Linked DNA regions of Homo sapiens: all the other regions are linked to region 3. The links are contacts of gene promoters, found by promoter capture Hi-C in human tissues and cell types (Jung and others, 2019). All regions are on one chromosome and are shown on one strand. The core of a region is centred on a gene start or on the middle of the fragment in contact, and the rest is flanking DNA. Distances in the headings are between cores, read along the strand shown. Region 1 has its middle 23 kb from the start of NCOA1. Region 2 overlaps LOC105374329 (a long non-coding RNA gene). Region 3 holds the start of POMC (proopiomelanocortin).

The links. Contacts are between HindIII fragments. The study calls those that stand out against the background at their distance.
Region 1: a contact is called between a fragment that was not itself captured here and the fragment with the promoter of POMC in region 3, in 1 of the 25 tissues and cell types used here (pancreas).
Region 2: a contact is called between a fragment that was not itself captured here and the fragment with the promoter of POMC in region 3, in 2 of the 25 tissues and cell types used here (aorta and lymphoblastoid cells).

Annotation. Positions count from the first base shown.
Region 1 is chr2:24,466,536-24,470,845 of GRCh38, reverse strand. No RefSeq gene overlaps it. Among named protein-coding and RNA genes, the nearest start is that of NCOA1, 23 kb to the left of the region's middle. The HindIII fragment of the contact is 6,412 bases long and covers 1-4,310 here.
Region 2 is chr2:24,424,646-24,429,116 of GRCh38, reverse strand. All of the region lies in intron 2 of LOC105374329 (a long non-coding RNA gene), which reads right to left. Among named protein-coding and RNA genes, the nearest start is that of NCOA1, 64 kb to the left of the region's middle. The HindIII fragment of the contact is 4,125 bases long and covers 244-4,368 here.
Region 3 is chr2:25,165,586-25,169,922 of GRCh38, reverse strand. It overlaps POMC (proopiomelanocortin), which reads left to right and starts at 1,343. Exons shown (of 3, transcript NM_000939.4): 1 at 1,343-1,425. RefSeq lists cis regulatory regions at 1,041-1,066, 1,067-1,240, 1,306-1,318, an enhancer at 1,227-1,246 and a promoter at 657-1,469. The HindIII fragment of the contact is 18,073 bases long and covers 1-4,337 here.

The DNA.
Region 1 (4,310 bases), core at 1,327-3,826, 700 kb after region 3:
TTGTATTTTTAGTAGAGATGGGGTTTCACCGTGTTAGCCAGGATGGTTCTCGATCTCCTGACCTCATGATCCACCCGCCTCGGCCTCCCAAAGTGCTGGGATTACAGGCATGAGCCACCACACCTGGCCTCTTCTTCTTTTTTAAAATGTATTCTTAAAGCACTATATTTGTCCAAGCAGCCAATAGCGTCTCCATTTCCCTGTTTTCTGCCTCTGGCACCCTGGAGTGGCCAGATGGTCAAGGCTTGGGCTGAGGCTACAGGTTCCCAATGCCTTCATGCTCCCAGATCACTACGTGCTCTCGGTTCCTTCCAGAGCCCCATGGCTCTGCCACGTACGCTGCCCAGCAAGGGTGCTCCAGGTCATACTATCTTGCCTTAATAGCTTTCAATTGCAGTGGCTTTGTTTGTTTGCTTCTATTCTTTTATTCAATCTCACTAGACTAAGGCAGAAATCCCCAGAGCAGAGACAGCATATAATGTTAGCGACAAGCAGCTTACAATATTCATGACATCCCTCCCACTTTCACCCAAATTTGCCCCATTGTCCTTAGAATGAGCTCTTTCTCTGGACTTCCTTGATTCTTGAAGCAAATAGATTCCCTCCCAACAGACTTCCAGACATTTATAGATCTGTCAGAACTCTGGGCTGAACCTAGGTTTGTCGGCCTAGCTGGGATTCCCTGCACCCCACCCCTGTGCTTTTCTGCTTTGCAGGGTTGATGTTGGCATTCAATTAGATAAAGTAGGTAAAATACCAGAGTTGTTGGTGGCATCAAAAAGGTACACAGTACATGTTGCTTCTTTTCATATTATTTGGGCTACTTCTGGCATCACCAAAATTTATAGCTATACATCACTTATTCCCCTGAAGGTAGTCCCCTGGCTACAAGCACCCTTGAATTTGAGACAGATGGCATAAATACTACATCACCTTGGTACTTAGGGCAGGGTCTGCAAATTCAGTTAATAGACAGTCTTGGATATAGGGCCTGCAGGGATTGCATTTTCCAGAACAGGAAATAGAAAACTGATATGGGCCACAAGGGAGTGATACCATGAGAGCAGCATCTTCACACATTATTTTTCCAATTATCCACAGATATTTGCTATTCAAGTGGGGCATGGGAATTACTAAGGTAATTACTAGCTGTCCCAACAACTGCTATGTGGACCCTTCATTCCAAAAAAAGGGAAGAAGATATGAAAGAGAGAAAATATGCAAAATAAACAATATTCTAACCAATGCCTTTTGGATGAATTAGAGCAGAAAAGAACAGAAATGTGGAAAACAGGAGATGCTTGCAGTGACTCACAAATGAGCAGATGAGGGCCTGAACCAAGAAGGCAGTTGTTTAACTGCTTTGATAATGGCAAGTATGAGACATTGTAGAAGAAAAAATTAGGATAAGTTTTTGATGAGTTAGACATGGGACGTGCAAGAGAAAAAGGAACAGAAAGAATGATGAGGTTATTAGCTTGAGAAGCAGGGTAGTGCCTCTGAGCTTAAGGCATAGGACCGAGAGTGAGAAGACCTGTCCCTACCACTTTGAACAAGTGACTTAACCCCTCTTAGCCCACTCTTCTCATTTGTAAAGTGTCTCTGCTCACCACATAGTGGTTTTGTAAGGCACAAATAAGATGATGTGCAGGAAAGCTGCAATGTGCTGGACAAGTGAAAGGCAGTAATGTTCATCATCATCATCATCAGTAAGGAAGCTGGAAAGGGAATATAATGTGACTAAGAGTATGAGAAATTCAATTTTAAATATGCTAAGATGTTGGCTTAACATCAAAGTGAAGATAACAGAAAACTAGCTAACGTGGGGAATGACTTAAGGAGTTAATGAGTCAGGGCCATTATATACAACAACAACAACAACAACAAAATATGTTTCCATAAGAGGCCAAGTCTAATCTGTCATTGATGGGCATTTAGGTTGATTCCATGTCTTTGCTATTGTGAATAGTGCTGTAATGAACATACACATGCATGTGTCTTTATGGTAGAATAATTTGTATTCCTTTGGGTATATACCCAGTAATGGGATTGCTGGGTTGAATGGTAGTTCTGCTTTTAGCTCTTTGAGGAATTGCCACACTGCTTTCCACAACAGTTGAGCTACACTCTCACTAACAGTGTATGAACGTCCCATGGAATACTATGCAGCCATAAAAAAGAACAAGATCATGTCCTTTGTGGGAACATGGATGGAGCTGGAAGCCATTGTCCTTAGCAAACTAATGCAGGAACAGGAAACCAAATAGCAGATGTTCTTACTCAGAAGTGGGAGCTAAATGATGAGAACACATGGACATAAAGAGGGAAACAACAGACACTTGTGCCTACTTGAGGGTGGAGGGTGGGAAGAGAGAGGATCAGAAAAAATAACTATTGTGTACTAGGCTTAGTACCTGGGTGACAAAATAATCTATTTAACAAACCCCCATAACACAAGTTTACCTATATAACAAACCTGCACATGTCCCCTGAACCTAAAATAAAAGTTAAAAAAAAGGGGCCAAGTATTCTAATTTATTGAGCTGATTTGGGATATAAGGTCAACTGTGGAACTGAGGCATATAATCACTTGCATAGTAGAATAAGCATACGCAGCACACCTGAGCAATAGCGTTACTGGTATTTCTGTGCTATGAGAGCCTGGATGTGGCTGCCTTAACACTACAGACCCTTGACTGGAGCTTCATTCATCAATGTCCTTGGATGTCCACCTATGAAGTGCACAAAAAGAGCAAAAGCAAATTTGACTAAAATGGGAAGGGGAAATGGTGTAGGAGTAAACAGTAAAAAGGAAAAGAAAGCCAAGATAAATGTAAGAAAGTAAAAGGAGATGTTGAGTAAAGGATATTTGTCCATGGGATGCAACTATAAATAAACCAGGGAGAAAAAAGATTTTTATGTACTTAAGAATGGAAATCAATGAACTGGACTGAGTATTGTATCAAAACTGTAAGGCATATGATTGTGATGGAAGACACCTCACTTCCTTTTCCTGAGAGAAAGCCACAGGTAATCACCCTTTGTAAAATAAATCATTTTGTATATATGAAAAGAGAATTTGCTGTTTGAAGGAATCCCATGATGGTTCCTCATATAAAGTAAGAGTTCACTTCATAAAGCAAACAATCACTCCCATTTGTGAAATGGATGAATTGGTTGATTGCACAATTTATCACTTGTGTATAGACCTGTATTGTCATCTACTAGGACTCTGTAGATCAAAATAAAGATGACGTTGAACCTGAAGTTCAGCTAGAGATAACCCATTTTCTACCTTCTCTCCCAACTACCTCTTCTTGAGTAAGTTCCCTGGAGATGCCACACCACATCTCCCTCCAAAAGTAACCAAAAAATGAATGACTGAAGAAAGAGGGGGCCCCCGGCCTGGGGCCATCTGGTGCGAAATGTGAGCTAAGCAAGTTGCTTTCCCTCTCTCAGGACTTAGGACTGAGGAAAAAACAAAGCAGTGGTGGCTGAAGTCAAAAGGATTGCAAGTTGCCAACCAAAGTTCAAGAGACAAGAAACAATGATAATGCAGACGAAGCTGCCAATAGACAGGAAATGGATCTGTAGGAAGAAGCAGAATATAGGAGCTGTGAGATCAGGATCTAGGAGAAAAGATTAGAAAGTCACTCTTAGAAAGGGCTTTACTTTAAAAGCAGTTTAAGTAGAAGGCCAGCAAGAGAAGCCAGTTGCAAGGTATGTTGATGCACGGGTGGGTGGAGGTGACGAGAGAATATCACTGCTTGGGATTTCAAGAGACTGAGTGGAATGTGACCGATCCTGTATGGGAGGATGAAGTCTCAAGTATGTAGGGAAAATAGGACTTTGCTTCCCTGTGAGCCAGGTGAGCTAAGAACTGGACCTGCATTTAGAATGGGGGGTAAAATTGACCTGATAGAACTAAAAACCACATGATAAACTATTTATTAAACAAGCTTTTAATAGGTTGTTAGATTAATTTAAGTTAAAACAATGGAACCATGTACCTGCGACTTACCAACTTCATGTAGTATATCATCTAAGATTTCCACATGCTGTAGTAACCTGGTTTTGCAATCTCACTCAATTGTCCATGTAAGCAGGAATAAAAGAAAGAAATATAGCAGAGGCCCTAAAGAAAATAAAAAGAAAAGTAAGTCTGCACTCTTAAGGACATGGTCAACTGTTTGAAAAATGCTTCTTTTTTGATAAACTTAAAAATCTTACCCTCTCCCAAGATTCTGACACTATCACCTATCACCTCAGGGCAATGTTTTTCAAACTGTAGGTCATGAAATCAATTTGGA
Region 2 (4,471 bases), core at 1,057-3,556, 740 kb after region 3:
GGAATATGAAAAATTTAAAACATAGTTCTTTCTTTCCAGAGGCCCATAGCTTAGTAGGAAAAACAGATACTTTATAAATAGGGATATGTATGCCGGGCGCCGTGGCTCACACCTGTAATCCCAGCACTTTGGGAGGCCGAGGCAGGCAGATCATGAGGTCAGGAGATTTGAGACCATCCTGGCTAACACGGTGAAAGCCAGTCTCTACTAAAAATACAAAAAATTAGCTGGGCATGGCAGCACGCACTTGTACTTGGGAGGCTGAGGCAGGAGAATCGCTTGAACCCGGGAGGAGGAGGCTGCAGTGGGCCAAGATCGTGCCACTGTACTCCAGCCTGGGTGACAGAGTGAGACTCTGTCTCAAAAAATAAATAAATAAATAAATAAATAAATAAATAAATAAATAAATAGGGATATGTGACGCAAAGTTAGCAATGAAGTGATGTAATAAAAGAATAAGCCAATTAACAAAGGAGAAAATCTACAATAACCTCTTATACTTAAGTTGCTTATTTTTTGGACCTCAGGGGCAGAGATCTGAGTTCCTCATACTCCAGTGTGCTCAACAAACATTCTCATAGCACCTATCATGTAGCAGGCACCTTTCTTGGCCATGAGAATATGTGTTTTTTTTTTTAAGAGGCGGAGTTTCATTCTGTTGCCTAGGTTGGAGTGCAATGGCATGATCTCGGCTCACTGCAACCTCAAGTGATTCTCCTGCCTCAGCCTCCTGAGTAGCTGGGATTACAGGTGCGTGCCACCATGCCCAGATAATTTTGTAGTTCTTTTAGTGGAGACAGGGTCTCACCAAGTTGGCAAGCTGGTCTCCAACTCCTCGTCTCAAGTCATCCGCATGCCTCGGCCTCCCAAAGTGCTGGGATTACAGGCGTGAGCCACTGAGCCCCGTGAGAATATGTGACTTTTATTTAAATTGGGGGTACAGTCATTAAACAAGCAAATATCTGATAGTGGTGACAGTGGAAAAATTAAAAGCAGGATGGTGAGATAGCAAGTCCTTAGATGGTTCTTTGGTTTGGGTGGTCAGAGAAAGCTTCTCTAAGGATGTGACATTTAAGTAAGACCTGTGCAACAGAAAGGAGCCCACCTTGAGAAGGAAGACCAGAAGGATGAGCATCTCAGACAAATGGAACAGCTACCCCCAGCAAGAATGCATTGTGCACACTGGAGAAACTAAAAGAAGCCAGGAGTGCCTGGAACACTGTGGGCAAAATGGGGAGAAGAGGATGAGATGAGATTGCCTAGGTGGGCAGTGATCAGGTAATGTAAGACTAGATTTGAAAATAATACAAAGTTTGAGGCTGGGCGTGGTGGCTCACGCCTGTAATCCCAGCACTTTGGGAGGCCAAGGCGGGCGGACCACAAAGTCAGGAGATCAAGACCATCCTGGCTAACACGGTGAAACCCCGTCTCTACTAAAAATACAAAAAATTAGCCAGGCGTGGTGGTGGGTGCCTGTAGTTCCAGCTACTTGGGAGGCTGACACAGGAGAATGGTGTGAACCTGGGAGGCGGAGCTTACAGTGAGCCGAGATGGCGCCACTGCACTCCAGCCTGGGTGACAGAGACTGTCTCAAAAAAAAGAAAATAATATAAAGTTTGATTGGTCTTTAAGCACATTGTACACACACACACATGCACACACAATGTGAATGTGCATGCACACACACAGACACACACACACACAGTTCCAAAAATGTTTCAAGCTTTGGCAGAACTGCTGGAAACTATGACTGCTTTGAAAGAAATAACATTCATTTGGAAGAAGCTTAAAAACTCATTACTTCATATCCACATCTAATACTTAATTTGACTAGGAAAATCTAAAGAACAAAAGGATATTTGCAAACTGTACATGAGCTCTAAGTTTTATCGATGGTATCACTTAACAGAGTGTAGGAAAAGCCATGGCCAGGGACTCCCAGAGAACAGTTTAAAAACAAGAAACTCCGTGATAGCAAGCAGAAGGGGTGAAGCAATTCCCACTCTGAGGGGGTGAGGAAGGACAGTTTTTGCTGTGCTTCTGGTTAGGCCAGAGGTGTTTGCTTGCCACATTCTTGTCATTGGTTCTGGACAAGGGGCCCCTCTCGTATTTTATATTGCCATTTCCTCAATCTTCACTTCCATAGGCATCCTCTCTAGTATGTTTGGAATATGTCCTCAGAGAGAGTTATTTATCTTTGATAGATACGTGGGTTGTTCCATGAATGTGATTTTAACTAGCCAACATGATATTGTTCTATCTCTCATTTATTCACACCGTACTATGAATTGTAGTTCATCCATGTTGCTCCGTATATCTAATTCATCACTTCTAATTGCTACAGAGTGTTTTGTGATAAGGACCCTTCATATTTTAGTTATTCATTTCCCTAGAGATGGATACTAGCTTGATGCGCACTTTTTTTTTTTTTCTTTTTTTTTGGAGACGGAGTCTTGCTCTGTTGCCTAGGCTGGAGTGCAGTGGGTACAATCTCGGCTCACTACAACCTCTGCCTCCCAGGTTCAAGTGATTCTCCTGCCTCAGCCTCCCAAGTAGCTGGGACTACAGGTGTGCACCACGACGCCCAGCTAATTTTTGTATTTTTAGTAGAGACGGGGTTTCATCATGTTAGCCAGGCTGGTCTCGAACTCCTGGCCTCAAGTGGTTCACCCACCTCAGCCTCCCAGAGTGCTGGGATTACATGCAATGAACATCCTCATAAAGGTGAACTTTTGGGCCTGAGGTGAGCTTCTCTTGGGGGCTGCAGGGCCAAAAAGGCTCCTGTCACTCAGCTTCTCTGGGGAAGGTTGGATTGCTGTCCTGAATGAATGCACTAGTCCGTGTGCCCATTATATTTTCACAATTGATTTCTACAGAATACACTGAGTCTTGGGGACATTTGGTGGCATATTCAAGGTCAAACATGTACAAGTCTCAGAATCAAGATCCAAGTCTTCCCCTTCAGTCTACAGCTTTTTCCATTGGGAAAATGCCTTTCTGAGGAAGCTGACACTTACCTACATGATGTTCATAAACACAGACACCAAGTTTAGTTGAATTACTCTTTAAGGAGTATAATTATCCTTCTCTGCCCTCATTCCATGATGATTGATTGAAATGCAGACACAAGAGACACTAGGTTTTTTTCTTTGCGAGGTCAAGGTTTTATTTCCTTTCATCATGAAATCACCTGTTCTAAGCAAGTATGTGCTAAGGATAAGTTACTTCCTTTCCATGAAGGAACTTACCATCTAATTTCCTTTCATAGCACAGTCAACAACAATACAGATAGCAGATTTTGTAAAATTCTCCTGTAGTTCTGTGTTCTTGCATCTGCATCCCATCACTTCAGAATCCCGCAAAATCGACAGCTTTACCTGGTTCCTGTTCTCCATTTCCAGAGACTACAAACTCCCTCAAACTTCAGGTCCCCAATATCAGTCATTTAGGAAGACATTTTTGAGGCTGGTGGACACTGCCCAATGTGTATGTAGCACAGTGAGTTTGTTGAGAGCACAGTGCTTTCTGAGCAGGTATGACAGAACCAAAAACTGAATCCATTTTAGCTACAGTTGGTTGTGCCCTTGGGTTTGAAATAATTACTTTCCTAGACATGTGGTTCCCAGATGAAAGCCATGCTGTGATTTGATTTTTTTAAATGCAAAAAAAAAAAAAAAGAAAAAATTCTGTAGCAGAAAATTCATCACCAACATGTTAAGGAATTTGATGACTAAAAATAATCTCCCCACAGAGTGCATTAACGTGGTGTGCAGATTTGGGAAAAGGATGAACCCACTGGGGAGTCTGTATGATTACACCTGTAATCCCAGCACTTTGGGGGGCCAAGTTGGGTGGATCATGAGGTCAGGAGTTGGAGACCAGCCTGGCCAACAGAGTGGAAACCTGTCTCTACTAAAAATACATAAAATTAGCCAGACAAGGTGGCAGGCGCCTGTAATCCTAGCTATTCGGGAGGCTGAGGCAGAAGAATTGCTTGAACCCGGGAGGCAGAGGTGACAGTGAGCCAAGATCACGCCACTGCACTCCAGCCTGGGTGACAGAGCGAGACTCCATCTCAAAAAAAAAAAAAAAAAAAAAAGAAGAAAAGGAATGACATCAACAATGAACTGGGGCAGCTTTTGACTTGCTTAGCATCAAGAGGCTGTCCCACATGACAAAACAATATTTGAATCAATTAAATAACAGGTGATTACAAATATTATGGATACTAGCCCTCGAATCAAATTAACTCCCTAAAGGCAAGTTACAAGTCAGGGAGAGCTCAACACAAGATATTCTCAGCATCTTTTGATTCTGTGTTGGAATCTGGACTTGACAGTCAACTCCATACACAATTAGGTGGAGCCCACTCTTCCTTCTCAGAAAATGATTCTCCTAGTTCCTGGAGAAAAAAAACCACCTAGTTGTTTTAAAAGTAGAAAAGCATTAAAGCCAGGAATTACCATGGGGC
Region 3 (4,337 bases), core at 94-2,593:
GAACAGGGGCTGATGGATGGGCTACATCTTGATGTGAGTCAAGCTCCTGGATGGCTGGAGAGAGGAAGGATGTTCTAGTTGGGGGAACAGCTTGGACAATGGAGACCCAAGAAAGCCATGTTCTAGCAGTGTGAATGTTGTGGATGCTGAAGTGCCAGGATGCAAGGTGGAGAACTGGGAAATGGCCCTGGAAAGGGGCCAAAGCCGGGTGATGAAGCACCTTGTCTACTGTGACGGAGCTTGGATCTCTCTTGTGGTCCAAAGGGAAAGGATTGCTGAATGTAAAGCCAATGTCACCAGAAAAGCTGAATCCACAAGAGAGTCCTGGAGTCCAAAAGAGCATCTCATGGGGAATCAGGAAAGTTCTGGCATTTGGCAGATTAAGCAAGTGTCTTGATTTGAAGTCCAGTTTAGTCCCAATACTCCCTCCCACACCCACCACATCGCACAATTTGGTTTTGTTTATTTACTCCAGGTTAAGGTAGAGTCTCTTAGCTTGGTTTGAGTGCTGTACTCTTCTCTCTGGTCTGATATTTGGAACTAAAGCCAAGCCAGAACTCCAGGGCCAAGGGGGATGTTGAAAATTGTCTGAGTCCCCAGACCACCCTGCCAGCTCATGGCAAAGGGAGGGATCAGAGGCCACAGGGAAAGCACTTCAGCTGCTCTTCACAGCATCACCCTCTCCCCATTTAATGGTTTAGGTTAACAGGACTTTTTCCTTGAGGCTTGGGACACGGAAGGGAGCCTCCCCTAAACCAGGCCCTTGGAGAGCAGGCCCCAGGGGAGCAGTGCAACTCACCTTCACACCCACAAGACGGCTCCTGACTTCTGCTCCCTCCTCCCCTCCCCAAAGTGGAACAGAGAGAATATGATTCCCCACGACTTCCACATCACAGTTTCCAAACAATGGGGAAATCGGAGGCCTCCCCGTGTGCAGACGGTGATATTTACCGCCAAATGCGAACCAGGCAGATGCCAGCCCCAGCACGCACGCAGGTAACTTCACCCTCGCCTCAACGACCTCAGAGGCTGCCCGGCCTGCCCCACACGGGGGTGCTAAGCCTCCCGCCCGTTCTAAGCGGAGACCCAACGCCATCCATAATTAAGTTCTTCCTGAGGGCGAGCGGCCAGGTGCGCCTTCGGCAGGACAGTGCTAATTCCAGCCCCTTTCCAGCGCGTCTCCCCGCGCTCGTCCCCCGTCTGGAAGCCCCCCTCCCACGCCCCGCGGCCCCCCTTCCCCTGGCCCGGGGAGCTGCTCCTTGTGCTGCCGGGAAGGTCAAAGTCCCGCGCCCACCAGGAGAGCTCGGCAAGTATATAAGGACAGAGGAGCGCGGGACCAAGCGGCGGCGAAGGAGGGGAAGAAGAGCCGCGACCGAGAGAGGCCGCCGAGCGTCCCCGCCCTCAGAGAGCAGCCTCCCGAGACAGGTAAGGGCGCAGCGTGGGGGACCCGTGCTCTTTCCCCGGGATCCCCTGTCCCCGTCCTCGCGATGCAGTCGGCCGGCTCCGGCTCCGAAGGCGGACCTGGGCGCCTCTGGCTCTCCGCGGTCCCGAGTTCTCGACAAACTTTCTGCGCCGACTGCGGCATGAGAAGCCGCCAGTAGCTGAGCTGGAGGGCCCACGTCCGGCCCCTGGGCGGACGGCCGCGAAGCTGCAGGCGCTGTCTCCAGGGAGCCGGCGGCCTCCTCTCCCCCAGGGGCTCGCGGCGGTCCGGAGGCTCCGAGAGCTTGCTAGGAGGTCTTGGGACAACCCGGTCTTTTTTTTTTTTTTTGAGACGGAGTTTCGCTCTTGTTGCCCATGCTGGAGAGCAAAGGGGTGATCTCTGCTCACCGCAACCTTCGCCTCCCGGGTTCAAGCGATTCTCCTGCTTCAGCCTCCCGAGTAGCTGGGATTACAGGCATGCGCCACCACGCCCGGCTAATTTTTGTATTTTTAGTAGAGACGGAGTTTCTCCATGTTGGTCAGGCTGGTCTCAAACTCCCGACAACAGGTGATCCGCCCGCCTTGGCCCCCCAAAGTTCTGGCATTACAGGCGCGAGCCACCGCCCCCGGCCAGCCCGGTCTTTTAGTATCTCTTGCTCCCAGTTTCCAGGATAGGTGTCACATCTTGAAAGTCAAATTCCATACACGCTATCGCAAATTAATGTTGGAAACGGGGCAGCAGAGAAAAGGATAAAAGTCATAATGAACGCCCTGCCTTCCGGATTTTTTCGGATTCAGACCCCTGAATCCTTGTTTCCTTGCCCACCTTAGCGCACCCGAGGTGGCCGCGCTATGATAATTACATGATAACTGGGTCAATTACAATGCAGAATAGTTGGGTCTCTTCTCTCCAAGACCTAGCTGGGGTTAAAAACAGGTGGCCGGGGCGGGAGCTGTCCTAGATCCTGAAACGCACTGTCTAGTTTCGGATGCCCTCAACAGAACCGGGGTGGACGGTTTATGGCGCAGATCCTGGGTTGAGGGCACGGGCAGCCATTTGGAATGATCAAGGCTCAGGTAAGGGGCGTTTCCAGCGAAGGAGAGACAGTCCACTTGGCATTTGGATTCCCCAAATTCTTCATGTTTAAATGGGGCAGGGAGGGTTCTTACAGAATGGCTGGAAGGAGCCAAGGAAAATAAAAGTGTGTGTGGATTTTTTTTGTGTGTGTGTCAGTTTATAAACTCTGCACAGATTATGGCCACTTTAATGACTTACTGTTCCTTTGATGCTTTTGTTATAGGACTCGATGCATGTATGTCATGGTGTAAGGACAAAACTCGGCCCCTGTGCTCCTCTAATCTTTACAAAAGGTCATGGCCAGCGTGCAGTTTTACAGTAACAAGCAAAATGATTTGTTGAGCTCATAGAGAGCCCCTCACACCTATGAAGTTCTAATAAGTGTAGTTCTACTATAAAGTTAATCTCAGGATGAGCAAATTTCAAGTTTCTATTTTTCCAGAGCTTTCCATTTTTGGATTATAATACTTTCCCTACTTAAAAAAGCACAACATTTGATATTTCCCCAATAATTTGTTGCTTTAAAAATGACACAAAAGGTACTATTTGTTCATTGTAGAGAACTGAAAATACACATAAGCAAATACACATACACATAAGCAAAATATACAATACAAACACAAGACCATCTTTCAGGGAAGAATCTGAAGTTTTAGCAATAGCAGCCATCTAACCAGTTTAGCAACAGAATATAAGCTCTGAGAGGGTGGGAGTGAATATGTTACCACATTGTACAACACAGCACATAGGGCATAAGGAGGGGAAATGCTCTCTGGGGCTTTCCAGGAAGGCCTGAAGTCATTGCTTCTAGCAAATGGAAATCACTCCAGAGTAGTTATCTTTGACAAGAATTGAAATATAATTGAGGGAACTATCAGACCTGTAAGATTTTGTTTTTTCCTTTACTAATATGTTACTTTACATTTGCATTTGGTGACATACGTAACTACCATTTTTCTGTGACTGTAACATCTGGGCATTTTTCAGAGCTAAATGTGCTATGGTCAACTTGGAGCTTTAATCTAATTGCCTGGTCCACCAAGTTCTGGCTGTGTACTTGAATAGATCACTGGCAGGGTACAATGGGAACAGCCTGTCCCTTGGAGCCAGGAGAGGACACCAAGGTTGACCAAAGCTCGTTCAGTTGCCCCTTTAGCCGAAGCGCACCTGGGCCAGTCACTGGCTGCCAGTGCCATCTAATGGCTGCTCTGAAAATGCTCAGCCTTGCCCGGCAACCCTTCAGAAGCTAGCACCGTGCAGGCCCAGCGCCTGGGGAATAGGGCGAGGGTGGGGTAGAGAGAAGGAAGTGGCCTCCTGAAGTAGAAATCAGCGCTTCAGAGGACTTTCACTTCCAAAGCCTCCCCTATATAAAAAAGATTTGGCCCACGCCTCCCCAAATGAGAGATTTATTTTAGGCAAACTTATTTTAAAATGCCAGCGTTCATTAGGAGTGACAAGACACTTAGTCATCCACGCTTTAATGTGAATTACTTTTCTCATCTAATTACATTTCTTTCTAGCAGCTGGCTGAGAAGATCTTCTGAAATCCAAAATGATTGTAGGGTTGGCGGTGAGCTGATCTCCGGCCTCGAGGTGGCTTCAGGGGGCCCACCTGGTTAAGGGAAATTTGGCAGTGCGAGGGTAGTGCTGGAGAGAGGGGTGGGTACAGGGGGCTAGGGGCACCATGGATGCCCCCTCCTTACTGTCCCCTGGTGTCTTGACCTCAGCTTCTGCCCACAGGCACTTGCTGGATTCTCCAAAAGTATCTGCAGTGGCTGTTCCACCAGGAGGTAATTCCCTTCTGGTCTCTTTCCCCTCCACATCTGCATCCTCTTCAAAT